Linked DNA regions of Homo sapiens: region 2 is linked to region 1. The links are contacts of gene promoters, found by promoter capture Hi-C in human tissues and cell types (Jung and others, 2019). All regions are on one chromosome and are shown on one strand. The core of a region is centred on a gene start or on the middle of the fragment in contact, and the rest is flanking DNA. Distances in the headings are between cores, read along the strand shown. Region 1 holds the start of MGAT5B (alpha-1,6-mannosylglycoprotein 6-beta-N-acetylglucosaminyltransferase B). Region 2 has its middle 18 kb from the start of MIR6516.

Region 1 (4,074 bases), core at 593-3,092:
ATTACAGGTATCGTGGCACGTGCCTGTAATCCCAGCTACTCAAGAGGCTGAGGCAGAAGAATCTCTTGAACCCAAAAGGCGGAGTTTGCAGTGAGCCGAGATTGCGCCACTGTACTCCAGCCTGGGAAACAGAGCGAGACTCCATCTCAAAAAAAAAAAAAAAAAAAAAAAAAAGTCACTGGCTGTCCTCTGCTTGCTTCCCTCCCTGGCCCAAGCCAGCCGTCAAATGGCAGAGAGGCTTTCCCGCTCCAACTTCAAAGTCCAGATCTAAGGGTGTGTGGCCCAGGGGAAGAGGGGAGTACCTTCCCCTACCTTCTAAATTCTGGCTTCTGTGGAGGGTAGGCCACCTCCCCAGATGACCCACACCAGAGGTGGCCATGCCTTCTAGGGAACCCCATCTCCACCACTGAGGAAGAGGCTTCCCCTTTGGCCTAAAATGGCAACCAGATATAAATGCCACCCCCTAAGCCTACTCAATCAGAAGAACCCCCAATCAGAAGAGAGACACCTAATCAGAAGGACCATTTCATTCCTTAGTGTAGATATGGCTTATTGCCAGGATTTGTGGCAGATGTAGGCACCCAGGCATGAGATGTGATTTACAGGCCTGGCAGAGACCTCTGCCCTCCAACATCTCCTTAGCCAGCCTGCCACGATGCCCAAATTTCCGGCCACCATTCATCACTCTTCTGCACAAAGGCACGGTCAGCATGTCCTTGTTCAATGCAAATTTGTTACCTAGCCTGTGTAACACATTATATCTGCTAACACCAATTTATCACCCATTTTCACATTAGCAGAGAGCAAGGCAGTGAGATAATGGAACTCAGCACCGGTAAATTTTGATGAAGAAGGAGCAGCAAAGCAGAGAGCGTGAGTCATGGCCAGTGAGTAATGGCCCAGGAAGGGGGCCGGGAGGTGGGCAGGGCAGGCAGCAAGGGGCCTGGGTATGGGGGATTGGAGGGGACCAGGCCCAGCTGGAGGAAAATAAAGTCTCCTCCTCGCATAAGCCAGGCTGCAGCATCGTGGCCTGAGCTGGGAAGACCCTCAGAGTCATTTGACACATGACTGAGGCTTTGGGCACTTCCCAGGGTGGGGTGGTCAGATATGACCTCGGGAAGTGCTTTTGAAGCCGGAGAGCTTTCTTCAGGCTGGCTCTGCGAGCTCCCAGGAGTCTCTGTCTCTGCAACTGCAAACACATCTCCAGAGCCAGGAAGTACGAGGAGGGGGAGGGGAGGACGCCTAGATGCTAAGAGACGACATGAGATCCTACATGCTTTAGGGTTGCAAGGGACCTTGGTGAGCTTCTGGTCACTATCATTTCATAATGGAGACTCTGAGACGTGCACACTTGATCGCCCACTGGCTAGTGGAGGATCTGGGGCTACAACTCAGTACGCCCCTGCGCCTGGCTCTGTGAGCGGGCCCCAGCACCACAGGCCGAGTTTATACTCAGATCAGTAAGCAAAGAGGAGCCACGGGAGTTTCTGACCAGGGAGGGGCAGAAGATAGGCATGTGTTGCCAAGCGAAATCGTGGGAAGCGGCTGATGAGGAAGCCCACGGAGGCACCTGGCAGAAGAGAAGGGTCTCCGCTGGGTGCGCATCTCTTCTGTGCTCTGCGGGAGCCAAAGCAGCTTTCGGCCCTCGGGGCTGGTGGCGCCCTGGGAAGCTGCTTGGCTCAGGGGAAGGAGCAGGGACCCCCGCCCGCCCGTCCTCGAAGCTGGTCCTCGGCGTCCCAGCCCCGCACGGCCCCGGGCAGGGCGCACAGCGGGGCTGCGGCCACGAGGTGGCGCCGGCGCGCCTTGGAAGCGCAGCTGCAGCTCCCGGGCCGCCCCAGCGCCGCTCGGCCGCCTCCTCCGAGGAACAATGCGGCGCCTCCGGGCGTAGCGTCGCGCGGGGCCGGACGCCGGACACCAGAGCGCGGGCGGCGGAGCCAGCGGGCGAGAGAGCGCGCGGCGGGCGCGGGTTGCCCTCGTCGAGAGCCATGGGCGCGGCGCGGCGCGGGGCTGAGGATCGGCGCGGCCCGGAGGCGCTGGGGACCGGGGCGCGGGCCCGGGGCCGCCTTTAGCCGGCACCGAGGGCGCGGGGCCGGGGATGAGGGCGCCCGCCGCGGGGAGCCCGTCTGCGCGCCGCGGCACCTTCCCGCCCAGCGAGCGAGCCCGAGCAGGCAGACGCGCGGCCGGCGGTCTGGGGGCGCGCCGCCTCCCGGTCCCCAAAATGTGAAGCGGGGAGGGCGGAGACGCAGAGACGGCCCGGCCGGGCGCCCTCGCCGCCCTCCGGCAGCCGCGCCGCTCCCTCCGCTGCACGCCCAGGCCTGAGCAGCGAGGCCACCGGGCCGCGCGCTCCCAGCTTCGCTCGGACGCGGCTTCGGCCCGCAGAGGGTTCGTGGCCCGGACGCGGCGAGAGCTGGGCCCAGGACGGTGCGTCCGGCCTCGCCCGCGGCTGCTCGCACCAACAAGTTTGAACAATGATCACCGTCAACCCCGATGGGAAGATAATGGTCAGAAGATGCCTGGTCACCCTGAGACCCTTTCGGTAAAGTTCCCTCCTGGTTGGTTTTTTCCCCAGGGGGGCGCCGGGTGGAGGTGGGCGAGGTCGGTTCCTGCGAACGTTCAAGTCCTGGTGGCAGAGGGGGCGGTTCACACTTCAACCCCTGGTGATGACCAGTGGGGCTGGGCTGGGGGAACGGATGGCGTTGGGGTTCGGGGTGCGGATGGGGAGGGTTGTGTTATTCGGGGACCTGTCCCGAGTTGGGCAGGGTTGGAGAGGACTCGGGGTGCAGAGGTAAGAATGGGGGCAGAAAACCCCCAGGTCGTGGTCCTGGGCCCAGAAAGTTGCCCCAGCCTGCGCGCCCCTTCCCAGCCCCTCAGGGTCCTTCCTCACCCCGCGGACGGTCCCATCCGGGTGGCAAAGTTAGTGTGCGGCGCCTTGGAGCTCCCCCTCCGGTCCCTCCCGTCCCGCCCGTCTGCCCCTAGGTCGGCTACCCCCCAACCCCTCCGCCTGTGCCACCCTCTCCCCAGCCTTTGGTGGCACTGCTCTCCTCCCCGCGGGGCTCGGGCCTGGCTCCGACGAGAGGGTCCCGAGATTAGAGCGAGGACTCGCTCATCCCAGGATTCGCCCCCGATCGCAGGCGTCGGAGAGGCGGGGGCAGGGGCGGCGCTGCAGGGCTACGGGGCGGCTGGAGCCGAGGCTGCGGCGGAGCGTGGTGGGCGGGCGGTGGCGAAGGCGACACGCTTCGGGCGGCCAACACCTGGGGGCCCAGGCCAGGCAGGGCTGGGGCCGCGCGGGACTCACTGGACCCAGCCAGGGGCCCCCAGGGCCCAGCGGTGCCGGGGCAGCCCCCTCTCCTCCCAGGCATCCGCGGAACCGGCCCGCAGCGGGGTGGGGAGGGGGCGCTGCCCAGTGGACGCCCGGCGGGGCCCGAGTGTCACCCCGTGGGTAGCTGGGCAGCGAGGAAGCTGGGGGAGTGACCGCCCCGGCGCGGGGGCCGGACTCGGGACGTGGCCACAGGTGGGCTCCGGGCGCGGGAAGGAGCCCGAGAAGGCGGAGCTTGCAGGGGCCCTGAACTCTTGCCCTCCAGGTCTCGGCCCAGCCCCACTGTGGTCCCCCTGCCGGCTCCAGACGGGGATGGGGGCGGGGAGACGGTGGCTCACCTGGAGCCCGCCTCCCAGCACACCGGGCCTGTCTGCTGGGCCGAGGAGGCAACCCCAGGGGACGGCAGGGGTCAGGCTGGACCTCTGCGGTCCGGGGGTCCGGGAGGCCCGGAGAGCTGGTGCAGGCCGTGGGTGGTGATGGGGGCGTCGGGAGCCCATGGGAAGCAGGGCGGGAAGCAGGCGTCTCTGGAAAGGGCCTTGCTCCTCCAGGGAAGGCCTTGAATCCCTGGCCTGACTGGGAACGCTGGAGGGTCCTCGCCCCTTCCGACCCCATCCCTGTCCCGCCCTCCGGGCCGCTGGGTGTTTCCTGGCGCGATTGGAAGCAGCCGCGAGACCCCAGCACCACGGACAGTGCTCGCGACCCAGGGCTGCTTCCCTGTCTGGTCCTGCCCTGGTTTTCTTTCAGGCCCTTATCTGAAG
Region 2 (4,074 bases), core at 1,016-3,515, 240 kb after region 1:
ATGCATCCGTCTCAGTGAGCAGGGGGGCGACTTTGAATAGAAGGGGAGGCAGGTTGGCCCTAAGCAGTTTCCAGCTGGATTTTTCCTTAGTGATTTTGGGGGCCCAAGATATTTTCCTTTCACGCCTTCAACTGGAAAGTCCACTCCAGGGCCATGGTGACTGTCTTGTTTACCCCTATACCCAGACAGGGCTCAAGTGTGTGGTCAGTGTTCGTGAACAAGAAAGTGACTCTAGCCTGTGACATGCTCCTCGCTGACCACCCCCCCCCCCACCCCACGTAAAAAGAGTTCAAGGAGGTCCCATTTGCAAAGTACTGGGTACCTAGTAAGTCTGTAATATTATAAATTGTGCTTACCACCCTCTTTCCATGATATAGTCCCATTCCCCCATGTTTTAGAGAACATTCAGATTAACCTCCGAAAGATTAAATGATGGTAAGGATATAGTGCAGAGATGTGAACTCCTGTGTCAGGGAGGAAAAACTTTACCCTCATGTTCATGGTTGGAGGCCTGCAAATTAAACTGACCAAAGAAAGATTCACAGGAGAAAAGACTTTTAAACATTCATGTACACCAGAGTTCACAGAAAAATGTGACTCAAGGTTAAGTGGTTAGGATCTGGGGCTTGTATACCATCTTCATGAAGCAGGGGACTCTTAGGAAGGATGAATGGGCCCAGAGGAGCACAGGTGGGATTTATGTTAGTCTTGTGACAACAGCTGTTTAGGTGATTGCTTATCCTGGTGAGGGACTGGTGAGAGGAGACAATCTTCCCTAGTGCAAAACTCCCTAAAAAGCCCCAGGGAGGGGATTTGTGACAGTTGAATTATTTTGAGAGATTCTGTTTTTAAGCAGATAAGTAGAGTTCAGAGGAAAAAAAAAAAAAGGAAAAGTCAGTCTGGATATCAGTTCGTCTACCTAATTTTGCCACGAATCAAGGAAATCACCCTGTACTTTCCTTCTCCGTGGCCAGGGGACATTGAAATTATTTGGTTCTGGCAGGGCATGGTGGCTCTCGCCTGTAATCCCAGCACTTGGGGAAGCCGAGGTTGGCGGATGGCTTGAGCCCAGGAGTTGGAGACCAGCCTGAGCAGCATAGTGAGACTGTCTTCTACAAATAATTTCAAAATTATAGGAGGCCAGGTGTGGTGGCTCACACCTGTAATCCCAGCACTTTGGGAGGCTAAGGTGGGCGGATCACAAGGTCAGGAGTTTGAGACCAGCCTGGCCAATATGGTGAAACCCCGTCTCTACTAAAAATACAAAAATTAGCTGGACGTGGTGGCACGCACCTGAAGTCCCAGCTACTCGGGAGACTGAGGCAGGAGAATCGCTTGAACCCGGGAGGCGGAGGTTGCAGTGAGCCGAGATCGTGTCACTGCACTCCAGCCTGGGCAACAGAGTGAGACTTTATCTCAAAAAGATAAAACAACAAAAAAATTATGGGAGGCTGAGGCGGGTGGATCACCTGAGGTCAGGAGTTCGAGACCAGCCTGGCTAACATAGTGAAAGCCCATCTCTACCTGGGCAACACAGCGAGACTCCATCTCAAAAAATAAATAAATAAATAAATTAGCTGGGTGTGGTGGCCCGCACCTGTGGTCCCAGCTACTCAGGAGGCTGAAGTGAGAAAAATCACTTAAGCCCAGGAAGTTGAGGCTGCAGTGAGCCCTGGTGGCGCCACTGCACTCCAACCTAGGCAACAGAGTGAGACCCTTTCTCAAAAAAAATAAAAAAGAAAAATTATTTGGTTCTCAGGAGAGAAATAGGCTGCGTTCTCCTTCTCCAGCCCCGGGCTTTTCTTTGCTGTTCACCTTGCTGACTCCCCATGAATGCTTGTATCCGGCCACCAGGGTGGCATTTTGCAGAAAAGCAGTAATTTGCATATCACCTAAAAGAGTTCACACATCCCCCATGGGGTGTAATATACCATCAAGGATCACTTAAGTACTGGAGAGAAGCAGCTGATCAATGAAGAGCTTTAATGACTTGAGAGTCTGGGGCAGGGGAGAATCTAATTTATTCAGCCAACCACCGTGGACCCACAGGGGAAAGAACAAAGAGCCACAAACAAAAACTCACTTCCACTTCAGGACCACTTAGCCCACGCCAGGCTCCGGGCTCCGGGGTCCAGGCTCCAGGCACCAGGCTCTGGGTATTTAATCCTCAGAACAGTTTCTGAGACTGGCATCCTTATCTCCACTTTAAAGACAGGGATGGAGGCTCAGGGACGATCACTTGCCAAGGTCACACAGCTATTGAGCGCTGGGTAGGAACGAAAAGAAAGAGTCTCCTTCGTGTAGTTTCAAACTAATGAAAAATGGAAAAAAATTCAAAAGTATTTTCAGTAAACAAAAAATCTATTATATATTTCTATTCTATGTTATGCTAGTTAATGAAGACATAGATGAAAAGGAGAGAGGGGGAGAGAGATTGAGAAAGTCCAAGAAAACAGGAAAGAGAAATGAGATACAGGAGTCCGTAGACCAGGTCAGAAGATCCCCACCCACAACGGTGGATGGCAGAATAAACCGCAACCTCCTCACACACCGAGGGGCTTGGGGGATTCCCGGTGACGTAAAGGTGCCCTCCTTGACTTTCTTGCAACAACAGCAAAGGCTTCTCCACAGTGGCGTTCTAAAGGTTTCCCACGCGCTGACGGCTGAGTTGGTTTTCAAGCTTTACTTGGAGCTTGCTGACACTATCACAGATGCCTGAAAGTCCCTTTGAGAAAGGAGCCATGCTGGCTGGTTTTAGCCCACAGTCTCTGAACACAATTTGGTATTGACTTTTTATTTATTTATTTAAAAACAGAGACGGGGTCTCACTATGTTGCCCAGGCTGGTCTCAAACTCCTGGGCTCCAGCGATCCTCTCACCTCCGCCTCCCAAAGTGTTAAAATTACAGGTGTGAGCCACTGCTCCCAGCCAGTATAAATGTTTGTGTCAGTTTTCAGCCCCCTGTTCCATGCCCCCCCATACCATGCGCACGCACACACACACGGACTTAGATTCTCCCCATTTGAGCAGCTTTCCTCCAGCTGTTTGGGCGAGTGTGCAGTGCTGCCATATAAATGTGCTCAATAAAGCCCATGGTGATGACTCATCTCGGCACTATCTGAGCTCCACTTTCCCCATCCAGAGTCCCGAGTTTCTGCATTAAACGTGGTCGTCATAACCCAGTTCTGTCCGGCAGGAAGCCCTTGCTACAGACCTGGGTCCAGTGTGTCTCCTCTGGACAGTTGGGAGGTGGCAGCCCTATGGTTCGTGTGGGTTCTTCCCACAGGTAACTGAAACAGAGGGCCAGAGGGATGGGACCCCAGCATAGAATATGAATGTATAGGCCAGGTGTGGTGGCTCACGCCTGTAATCCCAGCACTTTGGGAGCAGAGGCGGGCAGATGGCTTGAGGTCAGGAGTTTGAGACCAGCTTGGGCAACATGGCGAAACCCTGTCTCTACTAAAAATACAAAAATATTAGCCAGTCATGGTGGTGCATGCCTGTAGTCTGGGCTACTCAGGAGGCTGAGGCAGGAGGATCGCTTGAACCTGGGAGGCGGAAGTTGCAGTGAGCCAAGATCATGCCACTGCATTCCAGTGTGGCCGACAGAGCCAGGCTCTGTCTCAAAAAAAAAGAAACAGCTGACATGTATATATACATTCATCTCTGTCTCCAAAAAAAAAAAAAAAAAAGAATGTATATGTCATCTGTTTCTTTTTTTTTTTTTGAGACAGAGTTTGGTTCTGTCACCCAGGCTGAACTGCAGTGGCTTGATCTCAGCTCACTGCAACCTCTGCCTCCCGGTTTCAAGCGAGTCTTCTGGCTCAGCCTCCCAAGTAGCTGGGATTACAGGTGCCAGCCACCACACCAGCTAATTTTTGTATTTTTAGTAGAGATGGGGTTTCACCATGTTGGTCAGGCTGGACTCAAACTTCTGACCTCAGGTGATCATCCTGCCTTGGCCTCCCAAAGTGCTGGGATTACAGGCGTGAGCCACCGCACCCAGCCTGGGGTTTGGCTTTATAGACTAAGGGCTGAAGAAAGCAGAAACAGAACAAAAAGCATATTGGTCAT

The links. The method cuts DNA at HindIII sites, captures the fragments that hold promoters and counts their contacts. A contact is called where the count stands out against the background at its distance.
Region 2: a contact is called between a fragment that was not itself captured here and the fragment with the promoter of MGAT5B in region 1, in 9 of the 25 tissues and cell types used here (heart left ventricle, liver, lymphoblastoid cells and 6 more).

The regions. Positions count from the first base shown.
Region 1 is chr17:76,866,562-76,870,635 of GRCh38, forward strand. It overlaps MGAT5B (alpha-1,6-mannosylglycoprotein 6-beta-N-acetylglucosaminyltransferase B), which reads left to right and starts at 1,843. Exons shown (of 18, transcript NM_001199172.2): 1 at 1,843-2,536. The coding sequence starts at 2,469. RefSeq lists an enhancer at 1,046-1,340 and a silencer at 1,678-1,987. The HindIII fragment of the contact is 29,656 bases long and covers 1-4,074 here.
Region 2 is chr17:77,105,114-77,109,187 of GRCh38, forward strand. It overlaps a transcript of SEC14L1 not described here. Among named protein-coding and RNA genes, the nearest start is that of MIR6516, 18 kb to the left of the region's middle. RefSeq lists enhancers at 1,539-1,588, 1,651-2,315, 2,429-2,758. The HindIII fragment of the contact is 6,923 bases long and covers 1-4,074 here.